Regions from separate parts of the Homo sapiens genome. Here region 2 is linked to region 1. The links are contacts of gene promoters, found by promoter capture Hi-C in blood cells and fetal thymus (Javierre and others, 2016). All regions are on one chromosome and are shown on one strand. The core of a region is centred on a gene start or on the middle of the fragment in contact, and the rest is flanking DNA. Distances in the headings are between cores, read along the strand shown.

Region 1 (4,937 bases), core at 1,581-4,080:
CTCTACTTCCTACCACCTCTTCTGCCTTCCTTTGAGCTCTGTTGGGCTTGGGGATCTTAGTTTTCTTTTGTTTATTTCCCAGCTCATTTTTTTCTTCTGGTCAGTTTTTTTAAGGGGGGGTGTTGTGGTTTTTTGTTTTTGTTTTGCTTCTGAGAAAGCATTTGCCTTTCTTCCTCTCCCAACATAACAATCGTGGTAACAGAATGCGACTGCTGATTTACCGATGTATTTAATGTAAGTAAAAAAAGGAAAAAAAGAAAAGGGCATTGGAGTGTTGCTTTTTTTTATTTTATTGTTATTATTATTATTATTTTTGCTATTTGTCAGGTACTAGGAATTTGGAAGAAAGGATACCCAGTAATGTTCTACTGAATCAGAAACACACCTTTCCCTGCATCTTGATACATCTTTATTCCCTTTAATCTTTTCTTAAACATCTAGTTTAGAAAATAGCCCTTCTATTGCTATTTAATCACCCCTCTTCTAAGGCCACTAGATTGTTCATCAAATCAAACCCTATTATATCTTTTTAGGCCCTCTTAACAGAATGTATATGTGTAGGGTATGGTCTGTGGATCTTTGGGCCCACTGATCAGATTAGAGAGAGGGGTGCTATTTGAAGTAGTATACAAAAATGTATGTGCATATTTCTTTTTTTTTTTTTAATTGAGACGGAGTCTCTGTCGCTAGCCTGGAGTACAGTGGCACGATCTTGGCTCACAGCAATCTCCGCCTCCTGAGTTCAAGTGATTCTCCTGCCTCAGCCTCCTGAGTAGCTAGGATTACAGGCACGCACCAACACACCCAGCTAATTTTTGTATTTTTAGTAGAGACGGGGTTTCACCATGTTGGTCAGGCTGGTCTTGAACTCCTGACCTCGTGATCCACCCACCTTGGCCTCCCAAAGTGCTGGGATTACGGGCGTGAGCCACTGCGCCCGGCCGTATGTGCATATTTCTAGGATCCATTTCTATATGTTTCTCAAAGGGGTCCATGACCCAAAGGTTGAAAAACATCACTGAGTTAGTTTTCTTGTAGCTTCCACCTCAACGGGAAAATTTCCTCTGGATCTGCTCTTGACTCCTAGTGTACTTCAAACCCTTCAGTCCACCACAGTCTAAAGGTCGAGGGAAGGGAAATGAAATAGGATTATGTGTGGTTGCAGTAGGCTTTAAATTCCAAAGAATCTGAAGGTGGATAGGAAAGAGGACTGGTGCCAGACAAATCTGACATTCTAGGCCTGTCTCTGTCAACTTAACCAGCTGTGGCCTTGATCAAGTTAGTTAGTGCCTTCCGCCTCGTTTCTTCATCTGTAAAGTAAAAGCTGAAGATTAAGGTCAATTATGTAAAGTATGTGTGTCACACAAAAGTAGATGACACTATTAGGAAGGAGGCTTTTAGATAGTCCCTAACTGACTTCTCTGTATCTTCCTTTGGCTGAGACTTTTTTTTTTTTAGGTTGAAGCTCGCTTTCTCTCTCTCTCCCTCTTTCTCCCTCTCTCTCTCTCTCTCACTCTCTCTCTCTCCATATATATATACATATATATATATATATATATTTTTTTTTTAACAACTGGTAGGATAGGTTGGGCATTAGCCTTCTTCAGTGATTTGATTGTATACAGATTGAAATCCTTTCCATTTCCAAACACTTAAGAGCCAAAGCCAACTTGCCAACTTTTCACTGTCGGTTCCCTTACCTTATATCTCTTGGTAATACCCCCCACCCCCGTTCCCTGATTCCTGGTAAAAGCTCTAGTTGGAGAGCCGAAAGGAAAGGAAATGATCTTTCAAAATTAAAGGTGAACACCTTCACTTAAACTGATTAAAATTGCAGCTCCACCGTCCGGCCTCTAGAGGGCAGTGTATGGATACATTTGTCCAGATTGGGGGACTAGGTTTGATAAATTTTGTCCTGCATCAAATGACAAAAGGGTAATAGGAAATGTATTATATTTATGCCCCTTACTTTGAGATAAGAGACTACAACCTTCATACTTCGGGGTGTTAAGCTGCCATTGCTCTTGTTAAGGGGCAGTTTGTTTTTTAAGAGATGGGGTCTTGCTCTGTTGTCCAGGCTGGAGTGCAGTGCCGCGATCTTGGCTCAGTGCAACCTCGAACTCCTGGGCTTAAGCGATCCTCCCGCCTCAGCCTCCCGAGTACTGGGACTACAGGCGTGTGCCACCAAGGGGCGATTATTATTTTTTTTTTCTACGCAAAATAAAAGACGGCTATTCAGTGTTGTTGTTTCATTTTTGTTTGGGGAGAAATTCGACTAGCCCAAGGAATCTCAAATTCTTGGAACCACTATTTTAGGCATTTCTGTTATCATTCCTGGAATACGAGAACTAAGCGATTGACTTTGCTTTCCCTAAAAGATAAACAGGGTAGTTGTAGTTGCAACAGAGTAGATAGAGGTAGGTCTACCCTGGGTTTAAAGTGGAGATCACAGCCGGGGAAAACCGGACTGGATCCCGAGGCCTCCTCCAGGGAGGGGCGGCAGGGGTGTCTCAAAATCTCCCACCTGTCAGCCCAACTTTTGGATTCCTTGTCACCTTCCACACTGCCCGAGCTCCGGACATACAGCCCTGGTGCACAAGGGTCCCATTCTTTGCACACCAGGGGTATAATGGACTCCGGACTGTTGGCGAGAGTGACAGCAAAAAGAGCCAGCCTCTTCTCCCAGGCTTCTTAGCAACCTGCCTGTCTCGGCTCCAGGAGGCGGGTTCCAGCCAATGGTTGAGCCACCCGCTTCCAGCCAATGGCTGAGGGATAAGCTGAGGGGAGTGAGAGGTCACTTACTGCAGCCGGACATAACGGCGCTGGCCCCGCCCCTTCTCGAGAACTCGCAGAGCTGGGCTGGTAAAATTGCAGTGCTGAAGACACTGGACCCGGTAAGGAGACTGGGGGTGGTAAAGAAGCTGGGGAGGAAGGGCTGCTGAGCTGGGCAGCGGAGGGGGCCTTGGTGTCCAGCTGTGCTCCGAACCTCAAGGGCAACAAAACTATCAGTACCTGCCTCCACTCCTTCTGTCTGGGTGCTCTTGAGATCGCGGGGTGTTGCCGCAAGACCCTTTTGTGCCTGGATGCCGGACGTATGTTCCTACCTAACGTGCCCATGGGGAGTGAGGGGTCATCACCTGCACCAACGGGTGGCATTTCTGTATTACAGCAAAAGGCTGTCCCTCCCAAACCTGGGATTCTGGGCTCACTGAGTTCACCTGCGAGTCAGCCCTACCTGCACTGCTCTGGTCTAGTACAAACAGGCTGCTGGCATTGAGGTAGGTGGCAGAGAGAGTAATGGTCCCATGGCCCAGGGGCAAGGTGAAGACTGCTCCTATTCCCATCTCTAGGTTTCCTTTCCTCCCTACCCACGACCCACCCACCCCAGCACATTGGTCTCCAGCATCTCATCAGCAGTTTAGACATTTGTCACCCCTCCTCACTTTGGCCCTGCTGGGTCAGTGCTCTCTGTTCAGCAATTTGAGGAAGAAACTTGCAGGGCAGAGAGCAGAAAAATTACCTTCCTTCTCCAGCCTGCCCCTGACACTCTGGCCATTAACTCCTCAATTTGCTGAGCTCACTACAGTGGCACAGAGAAGATTGAGGTGGTCCGGGACCCTAGGTTGGGGTCCAGTTCCCAGCTGGGTTCAATTTTTTTTAGGGTGAATGGAGGGAGAGTTGGGGACTGAAAAGCCTTCAAAGACAATGTTATTACAGCAGTCTCCCCTTATCCAAAGTTTCCTTTTCCTGAGTTTCAGTTAGCTATGGTCAACCGCTTGGAAAATAGTTGAACACAGTACAATAAGATATTTTGAGGCTGGGAGTGGTGGCTCATGCCTGTAATAATCCCAGGACTTTGTGAGACCAAGTTTGAAGGATCACTTGAACCCAGGAGTTTGAGACCAGCCTGGGCAACATAGTAAGACCTCATCTCTACAAAAAAAAAAAAAAAAAGACCATGCATGGTGGCACACGCCTGTGGTCCCCGCTACTCAGGAGGTTGAGGCAGGAGGATGGCTTGAGCCCAGAAGTTTGATGCTATAGTGAGCTGAGATCACGCCACTGCACTCCAGCCTGGGCAGAGCAAGACCCTGTCAGGGGCAGGGGGAGGGGAGGGGAAGCCGGACAGTGGCTCATGCCTGTAATCCCAGCACTTTGGGGGCTAAGGCAGCAAGAGGCCAGGAGTTCAAGACCAGCCCTGACAACATAGACTCCCATGTCTACAGAAAAATTAGCCAGGCTTGGTGACACACACTTGTAGTCCCAGCTGCTGGGGAGGCTAAGGCAGGAGGATGGCTTGAGCCCAAGAGGTTGAAGCTTCAGTGAGCCATGATCGACACTTGCTCCATCGCCCAGGCTTTTTTTTTTTTTGAGACAAGGTCTTGCCCTGTTGCCCAGGCTGGAGTACGGTGGCGCCATCATAATTCATTGCAGTCTCGACCTCCTGGACTCAAGCCATCCTCTCATCTCAGCACTCCTCTCCCCACCACCCCGGTAGCTGAGACTACAGACAGGCACCACCATGCCCAGTTAATTTGTTTTTTTTTTTCTAGAGACACAGTCTCACTATGTTGCCCAAGCTGGTCTTGAACTCCTGGAGTCAAGTGATCCTCCTTCCTTGGCCTCCCAAAATTTTGGGATTATAGGCATGAGCCACCATGACTGGCCAAAAAAAAGTATATTTTGAGAGAGAGACCACATTCATATAACTTTTTTTTGTTTTTGTTTTGAGACAGGGTCTCGCTCTCTGTTGCCCAAGCTGAAGTGCAGTGGCACAGTCAGCTCACTCTGTAACCTCAAACTCCTGGGCTTAGATCTTCTCAGCCTCCAGAGTAGATGGGACCACAGGTGCGCTCCACCATGCCCAACTAACTTTTTATTTTGTAGGGACGGAGTCTCCAACTCCTGGCCTCTAGCAGTCCTCCTGTGTAGGTCTC
Region 2 (4,937 bases), core at 1,644-4,143, 240 kb before region 1:
CCAAGCTGAGCAACACAGTAAGACACTGTCTCTAAAAATAATTAAAGTAAAATAAAAATAAGGAAAGCTCCTGTGACATCAACCTGATCCAGAATTGGGGACAGCGCTACTGCGGGTTCAATGTACTGCCATGTTTTCCCTGTCTTATCAGTTCTATCAGCACACTGACCCCACTCGAGACCAACTACAAGACTAAGGCTGGAAGTGGTTGAGTAGCAGAAGTGTTATGTATTCTATCTTCCCAAGGGAACCATATCCACATCTACCCCTAACTTTGGCCTGAGCTGAAAATGGGTTTTCTCTCCCTGTGGCTCATTTGTTTCCTATATTGAGAGAACACCCAAAAAAAGACTACTCAAGATGACTTTTTACAAGTCTTTTCTTTATCCTAAAACATCCTCCAACCGAAGGCATGGGAAGCTATCCTATACTCTGACCTTGCCTATATTTTAAATGGCAGGGGCCCCAAGCTAAGAATCAGCAGGCAGTGGCATCTACAGCTTCTGGTCTGTAGTGGCGTAGAAGCAGGAAAATCAATGCTCCAAAGCAACAATGTCCAGCTTTCCTGCCAGTGAGCTGGGCTTGAGGGAGTGAATGGGACTCTTTCTGCCTTTTCTTTTTCTCAAAATACGACTGCATTAACTGGGTGTATGCACACACAAACATGTTCAAACTAGGGCACTCATACCTAGCTAGAACCTACTCAGGGAAAGAAATATGTATTTCCACAGTACCCTGATCACCCAGTAAAAGCTAATATTTATTGAATAATTACTATGCAAATTATGGTAAGCAAATTGTAGTGTGAATACATGATATGAGAATATCACTTAATTCACACAGCAACCTTCACAATGGGGTTCCTTTTGGTACAGTCTGAAAAGAGAATGATTATCTGCGCAGGGTCTCAGAGCTAGTGTGGTAGAATAAGAAATTAAACCTAAGTAGTTGCTAAACAATATTACATTCTAATCTATCCTATTGAAAGTGATCCGGGAGGTAGAAACCTAAATACAGGAATAACATAAGGGAAAGAGATAACAAGAAAGTTAGGGACACCTTGGACTCAAAGAATCTGGAAAGATGTGAAACCTGTAATTTTAAATCCCTTTGGAAGGGAAAAACAAGAAAAGTCTAGATATGGCAAGAGAAGGGGAGGTTAAATTTTGGGGGGATTCCAATAATCAGAAATAAGTGGCATTGCCAGAGGCCCTCATATAAGAGAACAGCAAAAAAGTTATCCTCCCTTAAGTTCCTCCCTCACTCCTCATATCAGACACAGCAAGAGAACTCAGCTCAACACCAAGAAGTCCTGCCCTTATTCACACCTTCCTTCCTATAGCCCTCATCCTCACAGAAGCTTCTAGCCTCTATCTTCAGCAGTTCTTAAGAGGTGGGGTGGGGGGCTGGGCAGTTTAGAGTGAGAGTGGAAAAAAAGAATAATCCTAGAGAACCATAAAAAAGTACAGATTTACAGCTGAGGAAGCTAGTTCTCCCCACAGCTTTTATAGACTCCCTCATTAAGAGCTTCCAGGTATGCAGAGAATGTCACAGCTTCAGGAATTGGAATCAGTTAACCACATCTGGATGCTGGATCAACTATAGTAGGGAAACGGGGAGAGGAAGGAAGGGTACTAAGATCTCAGGTAAACAATTACAAGCCTCAATGTCTGTTCCATCTCCAAACGGAATTACTATTTTAAAACTGAATTGGGAAAAAGGCATCCTGAACTATTCATGCTCAAAGAGTATGTGGAGAATGACTATAATGAGATAGGAAGGGGAGGACTTCATCTGGCTTGGAGGTTAGAGACTTCTGACCAACATAGGAACAGCTGCTGAAATGGGATGAAAGAGGTTAATAAGAAAAAAAAAAAAATCCTCACAAATTGGAAAACACTGTTCAAAGATCTAGGGGAAGTAAGATGAGTGAGGAGAATAATTAGGCTTCAAGAAGAGAATCCTGGCAAGTAAGGCTGAATATCTTTCTGGAAGGTTATAGAGGATAAAGAGACGAAGAAAACTTCCAAAAGATCCACTGTTCCACTTCATAATCAGCATCTGCTCTATTCCCTCATGTATTTTTCTCTTTTTAAAACCATATTCAGGAAGAAACCATTAGTGAATCTATAATCTCTCAAGTTACAAATCAGATCTATTCTGTTTTCAGATGAAGGCAGAGTAGAGAGAGGAAAAGCTAGCCCCAAGATCAGAGCCTGAGGTAAAGAAAAGGAAGGCAGACAGAAAAGAGGGAAAAGGGAAGGTCATTCCAATTTTAAGGTTTATTTGGTTGAAGAGGTGTCAAAAATTTAACCAGCATTCCCTTTTGTTCACTTCTCCAAAGTCTCAGAATGGGGCAAACTTCACAACAAATGGGCAGCAGTTTTTGGATCTGCTCTCCAAGGCACAATTTTTCTAAATTATCTAAACTTTAGGTCCCTGCTTTCCTCACCAACCAGAGACTTTGGAGAAATAAAGAGATATCTTGACATTAGAAAGGTGATCAAACTATTACCATTTCATTAAGCACAAAACCAGGCAGGTTTTAGTAGAAATAAGGATAAAGGATTACACCACAGCAACATGGGACCTGATCATAGTACCAAAGTCTTCAGGTAAGGTGTCAGGCTCCTAAGTCTTATTACCAAAAATAGCTCAAACAAAAACCGAGCTTATATAAAGATTAAGAGGAGAAATTCTGCAATAACATATCCAAAAAGATTAAGCAGGTTTCAGATCTACATGAACTTGAAGCCTCCAGTTCCACTGCTTATGTTCCCAATGATTTAGCTAACAATGCGTAACAGCTCTGACATCCTCTGTCATGCTTTGATTCTGCATACAAAATTTCTTCTGTCTCTGAGGGATATCCAGCCCATCTCCCTTCCTGAACTGACTGACCAACATAGTATCGTATCACATCACCCTTGAAATCAGGGCCCTTTTCCTTTAATGTGGGACCCTGGACTCCATTTTATCCAAGAAAAAGTCTGCATTATTAGCTAATAACAGAAGGCTACTAATCACTGCCCTTGTATTTATATCCTTTGCAACACCTAAAACCTCCCATGTTCTGTTTTATTTCAGTGGGTCACTACAAGCTGCTGGAGCAAAGACTTGGTGGGTGGGTAACTTAACCTCTTCACAGAGGATAAAAAATGCTTGTGAGTATGACAGAAGGGAATAAACAGGCTTAAAGGGTAAACTCAGTCCTTTTCCTTGTCTTCTCTTCTAAGGGATAAAGGTATTATGGCCAATTCTCTATAATATTTGCCCCTGAAGCTCCCCTTATCTGGTCTAATCTAGCTCCAATAAATCAAAGGAGCACCTAATAAAACACATTGTTCTCTTTTCTATTTTTTTTTATTAACAAGCAACATAATCAAAAACAAAAACACAACAACCTTAAAGCTGAAACAGCAATAAGTCAAACTGCTGCCGCAGTTCATGGATGTACCTGGGGTACATGCTCCCTCATTGCGAGGCAGGACGTAGGCACATGACTGTGCATTTAGGCATATATGTGACCAAGAAGAAGGAGAGAAATGGAAAACACTGGAGAACAGAAAGTATCAGGAACTTTTCATCAGGCAATCCCAAAGCGCTCTGCTCTTTTCCTCTTCTTTGCCTGTAAAGAAGAAGCAAGAAGAAAAAAATTAGACTGAAGACAATAGTTGCCTGGGTTCCTGGCTGCTTTAATCCAAACTCACATGAACTGTCACAAGGCCCGAGAAGGAAGGATGGCCCAGACTTGAGCTTGGTAGCTAGAGATTTCATTCCTGAATCTCTCCAATCCTTCCAGTTATCCAGTAGGAGCTGGAAAGTTTAATGGGTAAGGAGGGTGAGGAGTAAAGAAGATTACTGGGGGTGAGGGACAGAGAGAAGAACAGTGGTAGAAAATGGGAAGATTCCTGAAGCAAAGAGAGCCACTCAGCCTGAGATCAAGCTAGCCTGGAAACAATGGGCTCTTAACAGGCTGGGAAAAGTCTTCCAGTCAATGGGGAGACGGAAGATTTCAGAGGATAAAGGATTAACCAATGCTATTCATAGAGGTGAAGGAGATGCCCTTCTGAGCAGTCAGGCCCAGACAGTAGCTATTCCTTAGGACTCCAACCCACAAAAAAGGCATATAAATCTTTGATGCCAACAGAACGAATAGGGAGTGAGTGGTATGTGGGTGAGTCCCTATCATAGATCTCTTAAAGGAGACAGCAACACTGGAGAGGACACAAAATGGTGAGGGAAGACTTCTGGTTCTGGAAGTGACTCACAGAACAGCACCAAGTCCTTCATGGGCACTCCCAACCACTGCCCCTAGCAGAATACAAACTCCTCTGGCTTTTTTCTAGTGAAGAGTGTTAGCTGATCTGACTCTAAAATTTTCAGGGTTTAATTTACAAGACTGACTCTGATACTTATTCATGAAGAAGCTTTTCATAGGCCAGGCATGGTGGCTCACGCCTGTAATCTCAGGACTTTGAGAGGCCGAGGCAGGCAGATCACGAGGTCAGGAGTTCAAGACCAGCCTGACCAACACGGTAAAACCCCGTCTCTACTAAAAACACAAAAATTAGCCGGGTGTGGTGGCACACGCCTGTAATCCCAGGTACTCAGGAGGCTGAAGCACAATAATCACTTGAACCCGGGAGGCGGAGGTTGCAGTGAGCTGAGATCGCACCACTGCACTCCAGCCTGGACGACAGAGCGAGACTCCATCTCAAAAAAAAAAAGAAGCTTTTCATAAAGCATCATCCTGTTGGTACTGTCCTCAAGATAGTAAGTTCTTGCCAGATATGGCTGTTTAAGGCCTTCCACCATGATTGTAAGCTTCCTGAGGCCTCCCCAGAAGCCAAGCAGATGCCAGCACCATGCTTCCCATAAAGCCTGCAGAAATGTAAGCCAATTAAGCCTCTTTTCTTCATAAGTTACCTAGTCTC

What was found. The method cuts DNA at HindIII sites, captures the fragments that hold promoters and counts their contacts. A CHiCAGO score of 5 or more calls a contact.
Region 2: a fragment that was not itself captured here is called in contact with the fragment with the promoter of SUOX in region 1 in 13 of 17 cell types (naive CD8 T cells, endothelial precursors, non-activated CD4 T cells and 10 more); the score reaches 9.3 in naive CD8 T cells.

The regions. Positions count from the first base shown.
Region 1 is chr12:55,994,446-55,999,382 of GRCh38, forward strand. It overlaps SUOX (sulfite oxidase), which reads left to right and starts at 2,831. Exons shown (of 5, transcript NM_001032386.2): 1 at 2,831-2,894; 2 at 3,170-3,278. It overlaps RAB5B (RAB5B, member RAS oncogene family), which reads left to right. Exons shown (of 6, transcript NM_002868.4): 6 at 1-2,238. RefSeq lists an enhancer at 2,605-3,105 and a silencer at 2,691-2,880. The HindIII fragment of the contact is 7,616 bases long and covers 1-4,315 here.
Region 2 is chr12:55,753,926-55,758,862 of GRCh38, forward strand. GDF11 (growth differentiation factor 11) reads left to right here. Exons shown (of 3, transcript NM_005811.5): 3 at 1-3,339. It overlaps SARNP (SAP domain containing ribonucleoprotein), which reads right to left. Exons shown (of 11, transcript NM_033082.4): 11 at 3,345-3,628. The coding sequence ends at 3,587. Among named protein-coding and RNA genes, the nearest start is that of GDF11, 13 kb to the left of the region's middle. The HindIII fragment of the contact is 3,070 bases long and covers 1,359-4,428 here.